Linked DNA regions of Homo sapiens: region 2 is linked to region 1. The links are contacts of gene promoters, found by promoter capture Hi-C in blood cells and fetal thymus (Javierre and others, 2016). All regions are on one chromosome and are shown on one strand. Each heading gives the region's core, a stretch centred on a gene start or on the middle of the fragment in contact. The rest is flanking DNA. Distances are from core to core; before and after follow the strand shown.

Region 1 (3,692 bases), core at 684-3,183:
AAACGGAGTAGGGAGGCAGAATGGAAGTAAGGAGAGAAGCTGGGAAGCTATGTTAATAATTTAAATTACAGAACTTAATAGCTTGGATTCACAACAGTAGAACTGGCAATAGAAAAACGTGTACAAATTCACATTGCATTGGCTAATAGGAGAGAAAATATTTTACTCTTTCATTAATCCCAAAACTGTCACTTAAAATTACACAATTTCCCCTAACAAATTAGCAAGGATTAAAAATTGATAATACATATCCCTGATGAATATGTAGTTAAGGCACTCAAAAATCTCTGAAAAGCAATTTGCTATCCTCTCTCTCAAAAGCCTTAAAAATTCTGTTTTTCACTTAGTAACTAGCACACAGTTAAGTCTTACTGTTGAATTAATTCCAACAGTTAGTAAACATGCTTAAAGAGAAAATCGGCATTATGCTCAAGAATGTAACTGTAGCACACTGTACTTGCAAAAAAACTGAAGAATGATCTAAATATTCGACACTTAAGGAATGGCTGAATTACAGCTTATGATAAAGTACTAAGCAATTCATTAAGGAGTTTCAAGATATGGGAAAACGCGGACATTATATCACTTTAGAGAATTAACAAAGAGTAAATAGTACTAGAGTTTTGCTTTGATGCTGCTAAGTTTTAAAATGAGAAATAAAGATAGCCGGCAAACAAGTACTAAAAACTTAATGATCATTAACCTAGTCTAGAATTGAAACTCAATAAATCTGCTCAAAAAACTTATACGCTAAACCCATTAAATATTGTCTGTATCTTACAGTTACTCTTGTTACTCTTGGTCCTAAATAAGGAAGCAGGGAAGTTTCAGTTCGGTGGTTGTCTTAGTAATTTAAGAATAAACATGCACCTTCAAAGCCTGTTTGTCATTCTGTATCCCCAGCTCCTAGCACAAAATCTGGCACAGAATAGGAGCTCAATAAATAATTTTGAGTGAATATCACCAAAAGTAAAACTTTCAGTTCCAACTCAGCATGAAAGAAATCAAAAACCTCAAAATCAAAGACGTGCATAAAAGTAATAGTTTGCTTGATAATATCTCGTGATGTCGTTTTAAAGTAATAGTGATAATAATGTATAATATTTGGAGTGGTTACAATGTATCAGGCACTAACAAGCACTTGACAGACTTTAATCCTTATAATAATCATTCTCTTTTAAAACCAGGAAACAGGTTCATCACTGTTCACGAAGTAGCCCAACGTCACACTGCCACCAAGCTGGAACTCAGTTCTCTGGCATCTAAACGCAGAACTACAGAAGACACGTTTCTTTCCAACGATCAGACGTCCAAGTTCTTCAAGCTTCCTCTACCATCCTATTTAGCATTCGCAAACTTCTACCTTGAATTGTAGCTATTATCCCTTCCAAGATCCATCTCTCACCAGGGGAGCCCCTGACACTCCCTCCCTCCCCAGCTGGGAAGCCCCCCAGGATGAAGGACCGAGTCTCCATGCTTCTCGGTGGCTGCACACTTAGAATGGGGGCTTGGCACCAGGCGAGGGTCTCGCCCCTTTGATACCCTTTGAGGTTGATTTACTGCCTTGCGAATCCCGACTCCCAACTGGGCCCTTTGAGGCGCCATGTGCGGCCCCTCGAGCCAGACTCGGCGCCAGGAGAAGGGAGTCAGCGTCTGGAGGGGTGGACACGGCGGCGCGCAGGAGCTGTTTCCAGGACAACCGAGGGCCGCCCCACAGTGTCCGCCCCACAGTGTCCGCCCCTTGCGTCTCGCCGCTCCGCCCCTTCCCGGCGCGGGTGCTCCAACCAGCCCCCGTGAGCGAATAGAGAGAGGGGTGCTAGATGGACTCTCACCTCTCAGCGCGTGGTGCATGCCGCCCACGCCGCTGTATAGCTCCAGCACCCGCAGGGGCTCCATCCCCGCGCCTCAGCCGCCGCAGCCCCGGAGCTAGGCCTGCCGGTCCGTCGCTCCTCCTCCCTCCATCGCGCCGCTCCCTCAGCCTCTGGTTCCGCGGCGTTTCAGTTCCCCCGTCTCCTACCGCTCCAGGCTCAGGGCTTCAGAGGGCCTCGCGGCCTGGGGATTGGCAAGGGTCTAGAGGGGAACAAAGGACGGAAAACAATAAGGCTTCCCGAATGAATGGCAGCCACTCTGTAGCCTGATTTACGCTCCATTTCCTTCTTTGGTGTCAGGGGCCTTGATTGGAAAAGAAATCCAGAGTTCAGTAAAGGGGAGAAAACTGCCTTGGTTTCCAAGTGAATTAACACTGGTTAGAAGCCAGAAAAAAATCATTTTTCAGACAAGCTGCTTTTCTGTCACTTAGAAGCCTGAACATTCAAACATTCTTTCCACAGTGTGCCTTGTTTCCTGCCTGCCCTGGGTCAATAGAGAGAAATTAGACCAGCCTCTCCCCTAGAGAAGATTCCAGAATTATAAGTAAGGACACAAGTCCACTCGCAGCAGAGAAAGCCCTGTGTGCGTGCTGATAATACAGAGGATGTTTGTTGTGTCTATTAGTGGGGTTAATTATGTTTTAGCTTGGAAATTACACCTACATAGAATACACAGTGAATATCATGTAGGATTATTTATGGGTCTTTAAGTGCTATGGCCTTGATTCCTCAGGATGATCCAGTAACCAACTGTTAGAGGCTCATGTTGACGAAAAAAGCCAAACTCCGTAAAATGTTTGAAGAGGTTTATTCTGAGCACAAGGTGAGGACCGTGACCCATGACACAACCCCACAGGGTCCTGACAACATGTACCCAAGGTGGTTGGGCTACAGCTTGGGATTATATGGTTTTAGGGAGACATAAGGACATTAACTGGTATATGGAAGGTGTACTTAGTTTGGTCCATAAAGATGGGACAACTCAAAAAGGGGAAGGATTCCAGGTTACAGGTGGATTCAAAGATTTTCTGATTGGCAGTTGGTTGAAAGAGTTAAGTTGTGACCTAAAGACCTGGAATCAATAGAAAGGAATGTGTCTGGGTTAAGATAAGGTGGAGACCAAGGTTCTTATTATGTAGACGAAGTCTCATACGTAACAGGCTTCAGAGAGAATAATTGGCAAATGTCTCTTATCATGTGTAAAAAGATGCCAGACTCTTAGTTAAATATCTCTTGGATCAGGAAAAGACCTGGAAAGGGAAAGGGAGTCTCTATAGAATGTAGATTTTCCCCACAAGAGATGGCTGTGTAGGGCCATTTCAAAAAGTGTCAAAGAAATTTATTTTAGGGTAAAATGCTTTGATTTAGGGCCTGCTATCTTTCATGTGATGCTATACTAGAGTCATGTTGGAATTTTGGTATCTTATTGCTAAGAAGAGTCTGTTATGTCGGTATGAAGATCTCTTGTTTTAATAATAATACTGGTCAGTTGTGCCTGAACTCCAAAGAGAGGAAAGTATAATGAGGCATGTCTGACTTCCCTTTCCCAGCATGGCCTGAACTAGTTTTTCAAGTTTCTTTGGAATCCGCTTGGTGGAGGTGTTCAATCAGTCAGTTGGGGGGAGCTTAGAAATTTTGTGGGGGGAGCGGTGTTTACAGTCAATTATAAATAAAAATAATGTACCCATATGGAGGATAGAAAATGTTCCCGTTGTGAAGTGTTTTTCTCTTTGTTCCCAACACTGCCACAGGTTTTTGTTAGGGGGAACTTGGGGGTACCACTTGTAATAACAATAACTGATTTGTTAGAAATGTTGCATGCCT
Region 2 (3,781 bases), core at 723-3,222, 1.4 Mb before region 1:
ACTGAGAATATAGAAGGGTGATTAAATAACATTTCAGTTCAGCTATGCTACGGCAGTTATAAAGTATGAAAAATTACTGATAATCAGTGCCTCACATATCATAATGTGTCCTGCACTTTTAAATAATCTTTCAGATTATATAAATCCAAGTAATATCATCAGAGCTAACCTTCCTTTTTATAATATAAAATCTTTAGGTTTAAGGCTTAATTATTAAACAAACATGTATAAAAAGGCATAACACTTTCAAACTACACAGGTTCAATGACAGCTTTAAGTTTGTTTCCTCATTTATTTGTATAACTGTTAAAAAGTTTTCAGTAACTTATTTAGATTATGTTTATTAATCAAAGGAAATAGAAGAAAGCATTTTAATCAGAGGTAATGTTTATTGAGCACTTTACTAAGTGCCAGGCCCTTTTCTAAATGCCCTACATGTCTTACCTCATTTAATCCTCATATAAACCCTCTTAGCTCCATTTTACAGAAGAGGAACCTGAGGCACACAGAAAAATCCTCTCAAGAGTACATAGGATTAAACAGCAGAGATGAGACTTGAGCACAGATAGTCTTGGCTCCAGGGAGTTATTTATCACAATGAATAACTTCACATATATTTCATAAAGCAAATCTTACTACTATCAAATATAAATTCTCACTGGTGAGTTAAGAAAATTGATTCATTATGAAGTCAAAATTTTAGATTTTTATTTACAATTTAAAATGTCACATTATGCTAGCTTTCCAAAGCCTAGTTGTGAGTGTTTCATATTTCGTTTTAAAATCTTTAGCAGTCCAAATGTATTAAGTTATTTCTTGGTTTATGTGGGAAACAAACTGAAATTGAACCTGAGTATTCACTACTGCGAACAACTGTGCATTACCAACAAGCCAAAACTATACACACCACATAAGCCAATGAAATTAATGTTTGTAGAGAAAGTAATATTAACAAGAGGGGAAAACACTTTACATTAAAACTTTCAGAAAATGAAAATTCTACCTAATCTTTTCCAAATTATACTGCTTGTTCTGCAACATTAGATTATCTAAATAGTTTTACTGGGTATACTACAAGAGTAGACATAAAGATAATAATTTAGAGAAAAGAGGCAAGCAAAATAAAAAGCTTAGCAGGCAGGGATGGTGAAAAAATATAAAACACAAGAAAAAGAACAAAGCTGGGAATAAAGGAAAGAACAGGTAAAATAGATTGTTACACGGAATAAAAATTGTAATATAAATACAGTTCATTTGTCACTAAGGTAAATTCTCAAATTTTCAGTTAACAAAGTATTTCAAATGTATACATTATTTAAAAAATTTAAAATATGGTTTACTTCATGGCAACTTTTAAAATGAGATACAAAGTAAACTGGAAAAATTACTAAAATGTTTTCTGGAGGGTAATTCAATATAATATGCCCATCTAAATTAGTTACTGAAGTACCAAAGGGAATGCATTATAAGGCCCTTTAACCTATAGCAACGTGACGTATCACCACAGAACTGCATAGCATATTTCATAGTATGCACTCAGTATACTGTTAAGATACTAATGGAAAATGTTATATAAAAAGATCTTACTATTTTCTCACATCAATATACAGACTGGCTTTAAGCACAAAATCTTTAAAATACCTTTTCAAAAGATCAACAATTCCTCTTTCAAAATTTTAATATCCTAAATGAACCTATTAAGTGTGCTAACACCCACACAGTAAAACCTGGAGAATATGTTAAAACCAATCTTAGTGACACTTTGGACTAGCATCCTTGTGACTGTTTTCCACTTGTTGTCTTCAAATGTCATTATAAACTCTAAAATATGTTAAGTTCTTTTTGAAAGGCCATATTTCAAAGGCTTCAAAAGGAAGCATCATATAGCTGTTCAAATGTTCAAAATTATTCCTTGCAAATGTTACTACTATTAGAATTTGCCAGGCTTAAGGCATTTTAACTGCAGAGGTAGGAGAAAAAAGACACTGACAACACAGAGGCATTTTAGTCCAGGGAGGCAACAGCACCTTATAGATAATACTATATGGAAAGCAAAATGTGTATCCCATACAATTGAAGTGTACTTTCAGGTACGTAATCTCTTTACGAAAACTTTCCACAAAGATGATAGTTAATGTGATGCTCTGTGGGTAGAATAAGTCACTTATTTAACATAAGCACTTGGGACTACCAATTATAAAAAACCATCAACTAGCAAGATTATTCCTGAAAAGCAAATCAGAAAAGCAACTCTTAACTAGCTTCCGTACCACTAGCTGTCTCCATTTCACACTGGCAGCTTTCGGGTCAATTACATAACAATTTTCAAAAGTTAAAAACCACAGAATATATAATTTTTATGAATAATGAGAATAGCTATTATTTAACGTAAACAGCTATTATTTAACTTATCTTCAAGGTATGAAAAACTTAAGGCATAATTAAAATTGCCTTAAAATAATCTATATGTATAAAAATATCCAAATAATTCGGAAAGAAAAGAAACAGCTTGCAATGAGGAGAAATGTCCCCATCTTTGCTCTGGGAAGCAAGTAAAGATAACTTTATGAAATCTTCTGATGTCCAAAAAAATCCGTTTTTGCAATACCAAAGCAAAACATTAAGGCATCTGAAACTGAAGCATATCATTATTTCTAAATAAGAGTTCTAAAGCTCAAAAGAGATTATTATCAAGCAGAAGTTAACCAGAACATTTTTAAAAGTTTAAGAGATGCATTTTTTTTTGCAAAAATGTAGTATCTTCTAAGTAGTTAAAATAAATGATATGGAAATAAAAAATAGTGAGGCTCAGTAATTAAGCTTAAGCTGGAAAAGAATACATGTTATGAAAATTTTAAGTAATTTTTTCTTCAAAATATTCAATAGATTCATTAAAACAAAGGAACAAGAAAAAAACTTCAGGAAATAAAAATATATCTTACAAGAATGTTCCACTTGGCAACTAGACTCTGCAGGACTCCCAGAAATACTAGCAGTTTCCTCAGTTGTCTTTCCTCTTAACCATGAAACCAAGCAGTATGATCCAGAGTGGTCACAACAAGCACTTTCTAAAATATCACACAAGGTATGACAAAGGAGTTCCTTCTGCTCTTCCTCTAAAAATAACCAAAGCATAAGTTATAATGGTTTCCTCTGGAAAAAAAAAAATTCTGTCATGAATAACAATAGTAAGAATGGGTTAATGATGAAAATCAAGCATTTTAAAAATGGGGGAAAAATCTCTAAATAGATTTTAAATTATGTCTTAGAAAAACAATGTGTTTGTGGATTAAAATATCACCACTTTAAATAAAGCCATCCAAATAACACCACCAAGTAGAAAAAGAATACTGAAAAATGCAGAACTAAACATTATGAAAGATCATAATGTGACACTGATCATCACTTTCTTAAAACTTTAGCAACTGCAGCATTTAAGCCAAGAGGTTTCCTCTACTGAAGAACTGAGCACAATGTAAAGGCCTGTTGAAACCTCTATTTTTTTTCCCTCACATCTGAATTAATCTAACGTCTATGATCACCCCGTCCCAAAGGGATAAGAATAATGAGATGAGAGACCGTCAGCACATATGTTACCAAAGTCCATTACATCAGCAGAAGCCAGTGGTTAGAATACAGATTTGAGCATTAGAATTTTATAGAAAATGGCGCAAATGCTCAGACCATCTCTTTATGAACCTTAGCCACACTCTTTTCAAGCAGTATTACTCTCAAGAAGTAGTATTACTTTCTGAAACTTTCAAAAATTTTATGATACAAG

Evidence for each region. Contacts are between HindIII fragments. The CHiCAGO score rates a contact against its expected background, and 5 or more counts as called.
Region 2: a fragment that was not itself captured here is called in contact with the fragment with the promoter of TRDMT1 in region 1 in 2 of 17 cell types (total B cells and naive CD8 T cells); the score reaches 5.3 in total B cells.

Annotation. Positions count from the first base shown.
Region 1 is chr10:17,199,739-17,203,430 of GRCh38, forward strand. TRDMT1 (tRNA aspartic acid methyltransferase 1) reads right to left here and starts at 1,934. Exons shown (of 11, transcript NM_004412.7): 1 at 1,833-1,934. The coding sequence starts at 1,896. RefSeq lists a silencer at 1,572-1,631. The HindIII fragment of the contact is 5,194 bases long and covers 1,323-3,692 here.
Region 2 is chr10:15,838,484-15,842,264 of GRCh38, forward strand. It overlaps MINDY3 (MINDY lysine 48 deubiquitinase 3), which reads right to left. Exons shown (of 15, transcript NM_024948.4): 4 at 2,943-3,116. All of the region lies in intron 2 of LOC124902383 (a long non-coding RNA gene), which reads left to right. Among named protein-coding and RNA genes, the nearest start is that of MINDY3, 20 kb to the right of the region's middle. The HindIII fragment of the contact is 1,691 bases long and covers 1,128-2,818 here.